Regions from separate parts of the Homo sapiens genome. Here all the other regions are linked to region 3. The links are contacts of gene promoters, found by promoter capture Hi-C in blood cells and fetal thymus (Javierre and others, 2016). All regions are on one chromosome and are shown on one strand. The core of a region is centred on a gene start or on the middle of the fragment in contact, and the rest is flanking DNA. Distances in the headings are between cores, read along the strand shown.

The links. Contacts are between HindIII fragments. The CHiCAGO score rates a contact against its expected background, and 5 or more counts as called.
Region 1: a fragment that was not itself captured here is called in contact with the fragment with the promoter of C11orf16 in region 3 in 1 of 17 cell types (M1 macrophages); the score reaches 5.9 in M1 macrophages.
Region 2: a fragment that was not itself captured here is called in contact with the fragment with the promoter of C11orf16 in region 3 in 1 of 17 cell types (M1 macrophages); the score reaches 5.1 in M1 macrophages.

The regions. Positions count from the first base shown.
Region 1 is chr11:8,629,077-8,631,778 of GRCh38, forward strand. The region is part of intron 15 of TRIM66 (tripartite motif containing 66); the gene reads right to left. Among named protein-coding and RNA genes, the nearest start is that of STK33, 36 kb to the left of the region's middle. The HindIII fragment of the contact is 2,756 bases long and covers 1-2,684 here.
Region 2 is chr11:8,646,222-8,648,921 of GRCh38, forward strand. It overlaps TRIM66 (tripartite motif containing 66), which reads right to left. Exons shown (of 25, transcript NM_001388022.1): 9 at 2,195-2,327; 10 at 1,749-1,865; 11 at 226-340. Among named protein-coding and RNA genes, the nearest start is that of TRIM66, 35 kb to the right of the region's middle. The HindIII fragment of the contact is 2,018 bases long and covers 370-2,387 here.
Region 3 is chr11:8,931,518-8,934,217 of GRCh38, forward strand. C11orf16 (chromosome 11 open reading frame 16) reads right to left here and starts at 1,430. Exons shown (of 7, transcript NM_020643.3): 1 at 1,384-1,430; 2 at 625-809. The coding sequence starts at 791. RefSeq lists an enhancer at 1,049-1,887. The HindIII fragment of the contact is 4,544 bases long and covers 1-2,700 here.

The DNA.
Region 1 (2,702 bases), core at 57-2,556, 300 kb before region 3:
TAAACCAAATTGGGTAAGCTAGGAATGAAGCCCAGCTTAAGGGACCAAGGCCAAAAATCAATGGCTATCTCAAACATGCCCAGGCCTGCATTCCTTAATGTCTCCTTGTTGTCCTGGTTATGCACTACCATAGCTTTCTAATATTCTATATTTCCTTATCTATGAACAAGAACACCCAGTGACTATTTCATTCCGTTTTGCAATATATGACAGTCTAATCCTTTGCACTGGATTCTTTCTCCTTTCCCCTATTTGACATGTATGTTTAGTGTGGTTTTGGCGCTCATTTAATCTACCCATGCTGGACATTGAGAATTATATAGATGTCTCTTCTTAGTGAGATCCTTGTTGCCAAGCATTAAGAGCACTAAAATCCACGTGAGACCACCCAAATAATAATGGTCAGGTGCCATACGTCACAAGATATGCACAAGATAAAATCCCCAAGGACAAAACTTCCCAGATTAGGGGTAGAGATCATATTCGTGGGAAATTGGCTCTCCTGTCCTAATTACCTATTGCACATGTGAGTTAACATAATGATAGGGGAGAGGAAGACATGCAGACTGAGCTGTGGAAAAATTGCGGAAACTCCATGGCAGTTTATTTTGAGGTGAACCTGATGAACCTGGTCCCGTAATGCCCAGAAGACAATACGAGGTCAGCAATACATCCCAAGATATTGCATACTTGACTGATTTATTTCCTTTTCACAGCCACAGCCAATCTCAAGGAGGCCAATGCTATCAGGAGAGGGGGTGAAGCTCTGGTAGTATTAACAAGAATGTGGAAAATTTCCACGGAGGAAGGGACTCAGAGAAAGTGCTGTGAGAAAGCCAGCCCAACCCCATTTTTACAGGCTATGCAGACACAATGGCATTTCTGAAACCTATATATGCTATGTGTTAGTTATTTTTATACTATATCGGCTCTCTAGAGTGAAGGGTTGTAAAATATTAAAACAAAAGGTACTTATTTCATGTACAAAAAGAAAAAGAAGATTTGAGAACCTTCATCCTAGTCTGTTGCTAGTGCTACAAGATGGGTGGGGGCAAGGGTAGGGCCAACCTTCAGAGCAAGGAAAGCAGGCTGAGTCTCCAGGGCCTGGGAGGAGAGGAAGCACTTCTCAAGAGCATGATGGGATTGGAAAAGGGCTTGAGAGCGTGGCCAGGTTGTCTGACACTTGGTGCCACCCATGCAGAAGGGAGCTCACTTGTCAATGGAGATGATACCACCCACCCTCTAGACCCCAGGATTGTTCAGAGGTCAAATGACAGGAGGTGAATGTGTATTTCTAGCTATAAAGTACGTAGAGGGTTATCACTGAGGTTTCTAGGCTGTCAACTGTGTAACTGACACCTTGACTTCATCTTTACATACAAAACCTCTAGATTTCATGAAGGAAAAGGTATATTTTGAGATTCACTACTGAAAATAAACTATTTTCTAGTTCAGAGAGGAAGAGTCAAAATGCCAAAACACATTCACTCTGATAATCAGCTCAGGTCATCTTTGGGAGATGGAGAGAGACAACCCTGAGCCTACAGAGCCCCCTCTTACCTCCCTTAACTAGCATCTCCTCTCGATCCTCGTTTCCCTTCCCCCAAACTGTGTGTCCCCGTCCCTGTCCCTTTCCTCTTGCCTCTTTTTTGTCTCCTTATCTTTGTCTGCCACCTGTCTGACTTATCTGAAATTACCTCACCTATTAATTTAATGGATTCAGTTAACCTATTTAACCTACCTGTCTTTACCATCTAACTTGACAACTTGCCTGACCTACGACTTCCCTGAATTGTCTGACTTTCAACCTCTGCTACTAGTCACCTATGTGACCCTGCACCCATCTAACCTGAATTCTGCTTGACCTGTGCTCTGTCACCTGCTGCCCTCTCTCTCTCCTCACTCTTACCACCCAGATGTGTTTCTAGAGTTCAGTGTGTTGACATTATTATTCTAATGATTGCCACATGGTATTGTCAAAATTCAGATAAAACATTGCTCTTTCATTTTAACAGGAAGGGAAATTGAGACACAGAGTGATTACCTAGATTTCCCAAGCTCATACAGGTCCAAGACTAGGAATCTGGGACCAGCCTTGAAAACAGGCTGGCTAGTCTTGATTCTGTGCCAGAAGCTAGAAAGCTAGTGCCCTAGTAAGAAATGATTGAGAAATCAATAAACAGACACTTAGTGCACATGCCCTGAGTTTAATATAAATTTCAGGTTCTTACAGCAAGATAATATTGCTGGGGATAAAGTAATGCAGATAGGGTGGTGTTCCACATAAATTAACTTTCCAGTTATCTGAAACATACCTCTTTCAATAACAAAATGCAATTGGCTTAAAAACATTATTTCAAATGGGAGTACTTCTAAAACACTTTACACACTCTTCTGTCTTATTAAGCAGAGCATAAGGAGGCTAAGGAGACCATTTCTTAGTGATATCAAGGAATTTGGATGAACCAATAAGTAATTCAGTGATGCTTTCGGGAACTTCTAAGAATGCAGGGCTTAGCTTGTTCTTTCAGTGAATGACCTCATACCGTGGCACTTTTCCAAGTGATGTTTCTTGTCTTCTCCCTTGTTAGCTGCCCTTATAGAAATCTTGACTCCCTGCCTCTACTCTGCTTACTACTATAATGTAGCTAAACTAAAACTTTCCCAAGAAAACCATATATTTAAGCTTGCTAGATCAAGAA
Region 2 (2,700 bases), core at 129-2,628, 290 kb before region 3:
AGCTGCCTAAGAGACATAGCATCAAAAATCAGTTTGAACTGATTTTCTAGCCCTTAATGAGCCACCCTCCCAAAATTAGGCTGACATTTTAAAATACAGGGAGCAGCACAGAGCTATGGAAGCTGCATATCTGAATTACAGCCTAGGCTTCCCTAGGTCCTGGGACTAGCTTGATATATGGATGGTTTCTGAACCCAACCATCTGATCCATCTGTCTATACATACCTCTAATTCCTCTATTAGCCCATTGGCCTGTTTGTTCAGCTCATTCATCAGAACCATCTTGGCCATTTTGATCTGGTTTTCCACCTTCCTATGCTGATGCTTCACTTCAAAAATCCTGTAAACACAATGGGACAAACCATGGTAAGCTTTCCTCATGGACTATATGAAGACGAAGAGACAGCAAACATAAGAACCAACTTGGAGGCTGCCTACTGAGATCAGGGCCTAGCAGACACCAAATACAAAAAAAAGAGAGCCTTCCTCCACCATCCCACCTTTTGTACAAAGCCCCACTTGATCAAAGTTCAGCTTGGTTTTCTCTAGGTAAACCTCAAGTCTACACCAAGGTCAACCCAGTAGCCCACCAGTTGACACAGCACTAGAGGTAGGACCAAAAGAGAAAGTATGGGAATAATTTACTGTAATTTGTTGTGTTTAAAAGGAGGATGCTCCAATAAATGTCGCCATGAGGTAAAAAGAGGCAGAATGCATACTGCCTCAGTAGTTTCTGAGGGCCGGGGGGTGTTGGGGGAATGGAGAGTGACTAATAATGTTTATATTATTGGCATAATAACATATTATATAATAAACATATTATATAATAAACAATAATAAACATATAATTATATAATAAACAATAAACATATAATATAATGTTTATTATAAACATATAATAATGTTTATATTAATGTGGCTTCTTTTTGGGGGGATGAAAATGTTTTAAACGTAGACAGTAATTATGTACAGTTGCACAATTCTGTGAATATACTAAAGGCCACTGAATTATACATTTAAAAAGAATAATTTTATGATACGTAGATTATATCTCAGTAAAGCTATTTTTAAAAATTTAAAAAGCATGGGCATTGAAGTCACCACAGACCTACCATCTAAACCCAGCACAGTCACTGGCTAGTTGTGTGATCTCAGATGAGTTACCAAACCTCTATGAACCTCAGTCTCCTCATCAGTAAAATGGAGAAAATCGCTAACTGAAAGAATGGCAAGAACTGAACAAAATAATGCATATATGATACCCAACCCAGTGCCTGACACATGAGGTGCTCTCAGCACCTACCACTTCCTCTTCCTATGTAAAATACCAATGATTTCATGTGACTTGTAGATTTACAGAGAACACACAGGGAAAGGGGTGATAAAGCACAGATTGCCCCTGGTTTGTTCCACCCTCATAATAAGCAGCACTCTCTTCCCTAGTGTCTGCTTGGTACCCTTGTTCTCAAGCACCGACTTCTGGCTAGTTCATAAGGCATATTCTTTGACCCAGACTCACTCTGATCATCCTGACCTAGCTTGGTCTCAGCCACCAAGGGATGACTTAATGACCCCTCCCTGGCCCTGAGACCTCAAAGGCCAAGACATATGCCTTCTAGGACATATGCCCACATCTGCTTAACCACAGTTCCTCTTCACAGGCACTACATCTGACGGCCTGGTGTTGGAACCCTGGGTGTGCGGGAACAGAGCATTTCCAGCACTGGCAAGGCACTAGCCTGTGCTACCTGTCCTCAATTTGCTTTGCAGATGTCTGTAGACTGGATTTCTTATGTGCCACCTGTGTAGTCACACCTTCCAGAAGCATCCTCTGGTTTTGCAAAACTTCTTCAACATGTCTGCACCTAGGGGATGAGGCAGAGAAAAAGCTGAGAAGGGCTGAGTCCTACTTTGAGCATGCCAACCAAGCGGGAATCTCCACAGGGAACTGTCTCAGCCAGACCCATGGAAGCTGTGATGACTTCTAGGGAAAGTCTAAGGCACCACAGGCTCTTGGCCCATTAGGCCTTTTCCAGGGAAGTCCTACAACAGGAGCAGAGAAAAACTTCAGCCCAGGGGCTGCAGGTTGGCTTGGGCAGGGAGAAGATTCTGATGCACGGGGATTCCCAGAGCTCTCACAAGTAAGAAATCCAGAGCCCTCCCCAGCCCATTTCAGGCAGTCTGTCAGCCCCACCTGTGTTCTTTGTGTTCCACCACTAGGCAGCTATGGCAAGTGAGCATATCACATGTCTCACAGAATAGCTTGAGTACTTCCTGTGTGTGTAGAGGACAATACAAGGTGAAGTCTCCGGGACCACCATTCACTCCTGCCAGAGAAGACAGAGAAAGTGAGCTTCTCTTGCTCAGGTAGACAAACCTCTCAGTTAAGCTTTGCTGCACAGCTCTCAGCCTTCAGAGGACACTGCAGAAATACAGAGCTCGGGGGAAGTGTTATAAACAGGAGATGACTCTCCAGGGGCACAAGGAGGATTTTGGGCTGAGCTTGGCTGGATTTGCCCAGTTGTCCAGAAATAGCACACCATCAAGCCCAAGCATCCCACTACCTGCCAGAGGCTGAGGAAGGCGCTTGCTACTACTCCACATAGATCTCCTGCAAAATAATGAATCCTTCACAATTAACCTTAACCTGTTCATTAATCAGGATTCTGTTTTTAATGGAGCTGAAACCAGCTATCCAGC
Region 3 (2,700 bases), core at 180-2,679:
TAGCTGGGATTACAGTCACCCGCCACCATGCCTGGCTAATTTTTATATTTTTAGTAGAGACGGGGTTTCACCATCTTGGCCACGCTGGTCTCGAACTCCTGACCTTGGGTGAACCACCTGCCTTGGCCTCCCAAAGTGCTGGGATTACAGGCATGAGCCACCATGCCCAGCCAATTTTTTGTGTGTTTTTAGTAGATGGGGTTTTGCCATGTTGGTCAGACTGGACTCGAACTCCTGACCTCAAGTGATCTGCTTGCCTCGGCCTTCCAAAGTGCTGGGATTGTATACAGGTGTGAGCCACTGCGCCCAGCCAAGTCTCAGCATTGATGGTAAAATGAGCTATAAACTTGGTAACTGGCTATCCCTAACTGCCTTCTCTTACTCATGCCAACTGCAGCATCTGCAACTCTGCTAAAGCCAGATCAACCCTGGAGGGCTCTGGGAGCACAATGTAGGCTGGAGTGACAGACCCCACACAGATATGCCAATCATAGGCCAAACAATGACGACCCCTTTCCACCTTCTCAGGAAGCAAGTCTGTCCACCAAGGTCTACCACCAACAGCCAAGAACAAAGGAAAAAGAAAAGGGCATCCACTTCCCCCAGAGGGGCAGAGACAGGTACCTTGCAAGGGGCTTGTGCCCGGTGAGCCAGGGTGCTTGGAGGGCAAAGGGGTAGGTGAAGGAGAGGTCCCAAGGTGGAGCAGCACCGTCCCAGCCAGGGGCCTTCAGGCTTGTGGCCACGCTGCAGTATTTGAGCAAAGGCATCCTGGGCCCCGTGGAGGATTCCATGGCCTTCAGAGGATCCACCTGAGAATAGGCACCACCATTACCTGAGCTGCAGCTTGAAGCAAGCAGTGGCCACCGGGGCGAGGCAGGGCTCAGCTCTGCAGTTAGCTGCCTCTGGGGACAGTTGAGTCCATGCACGGCCCTACCTGCTCCCACAAACTCTCACAGTTTCCTCTTTGAGTCACCTGCCTTGGGAACCTCCACTCAGGAAACAGGGAAGGGATTGGAAGAGCAAGTGCTGTGAGTTTAGAGCAGCCCAGCTTTAAATCCTCCCCTACAGCCTGCTGGCTGTGTGCTCACTTAACCTCTGCTCTCCAGTTACACTCAGGATAGAATACATGGAAAGCACCTGGCGTATTCAGCAGCTCAACTTATGTTAGTATTTTTCCTCCTTCCTCCTCCCCGGCCACCTACAAGGCTAGTTCTGGCCTCAGGCAAGCTGAGATCTCAGGGCCGTCCATCCCCTTTCCAGCCCTGTTCAGAGGAGACAGCTGCCACCAGGGCCCAAGATCAAGCCGCACTGCTGCAGCCCACCAGAGCCCCGTGAGGGTCTGCCCCTGCCCAAGTCCACAGGTCTGACCCCACAAGGACTTACCCACAGCCCCAAACTCCCAGCCTCCACCTCAGCCTCAGGCTCCTTCTGACAGTTGGGGCTCAGGGTCTCAGCCCAACCGACTCCTGGTTGCCACGCCGGTTACCATGGGTGCAGCCTGGGGACGCTGTCGTCTGTGGCCAGTGAGTGCACCGAGCATGCGGAGAGGGGGACAGGAGGCCTTGGGAGGTAGGGGTGGGGCAGGAAGTGATGGGGGAGGGGGTGTTCTCCAGGTTTCCCTTTGGAGAGAAGAGGAGGAGGAAGAAGGGAAAAAGGCCAGTGTAGCCTCAGTTCTCCAAAGCTCAGGCTGCTCCACTGCTGGAAGAGTCAGTGGTGGTGGGAAGCCCTCACGGATCCCAGGAGACTCCTGTGAGGGAGGAGCCACCTCCGCAGAAACTGAGGGCGTCCTCCCTGTACACACTAGAGGCAGGAATGGGGGAGCCACTGGCGGCCTGGGGACTCTAGGATAGAATTTGTCCCTAGTCTAAACCAAAATAACCAAAGGTGTGGGCCTGTTTGTCTATAACAGGCAGGACTCTGTTGAGGAGCAGAGGTGTTGTGACCATTTGGAGTGAGAGGTGTGGACACTGGCAACAAAGGAACAGAAGTCCAGATTCTGCTTGTGGGAGGGGCTCGTATTTGGAGGCCTCTGCCAGTCACTGTGCACTGGTTATATGCCTGGTATGCAGGCACGTTTGGATGTGTCTCCCCCACATTCATACCCCGCTTCTACCAGGTCCTGTTTCAGTTGGCAGATCCATGTGGATAGGGAGGCCAAAGTACCCACCTCCAGGGGTAGAGTGGGTGTCAGTCACCCCTTCCATCCCCGTCTGGCCCCAGGGGTTGGTCAGGCAGTGGCGTGTTCCTGAACCTCTCCAATCAGCAGGAATCTGGAGACTTTGGTTGGGAATCCTGGGATATAGGCTTTCTCTTTCTTCCTATGCCTGAATAAGAAAGCTGATAGTTCTGAGAGCCTCTGACAGCCTTTTGGGAACACTGAAGCTATTCCCAGAGAAAGAGAGGATAGACCTCAGGAAATAGAGGGTTGGTTGGTTTGTTTGTTTTGAGACAGGGTTGCCCAGGCTGGCCTCAAACTCCTGGGCTCAAGGGATGCTTTTGCCTCAGTCTTCCAAGGAGCTCGGACTACAGCCATGCACCCCAACGCCCAGCTGAAAATAGGTTCTCGGTGACAGTACTGAGTCCTGCCTGCAGGCAGTGCTGCTACTCTAGGCCTCAGCTCTGTGAGCCAATAATTCCCCTTATTGATTATGCCACTCTGGATTGGGCTGTTTCTTACTTGCAACCAAAAGCCTCTTAACT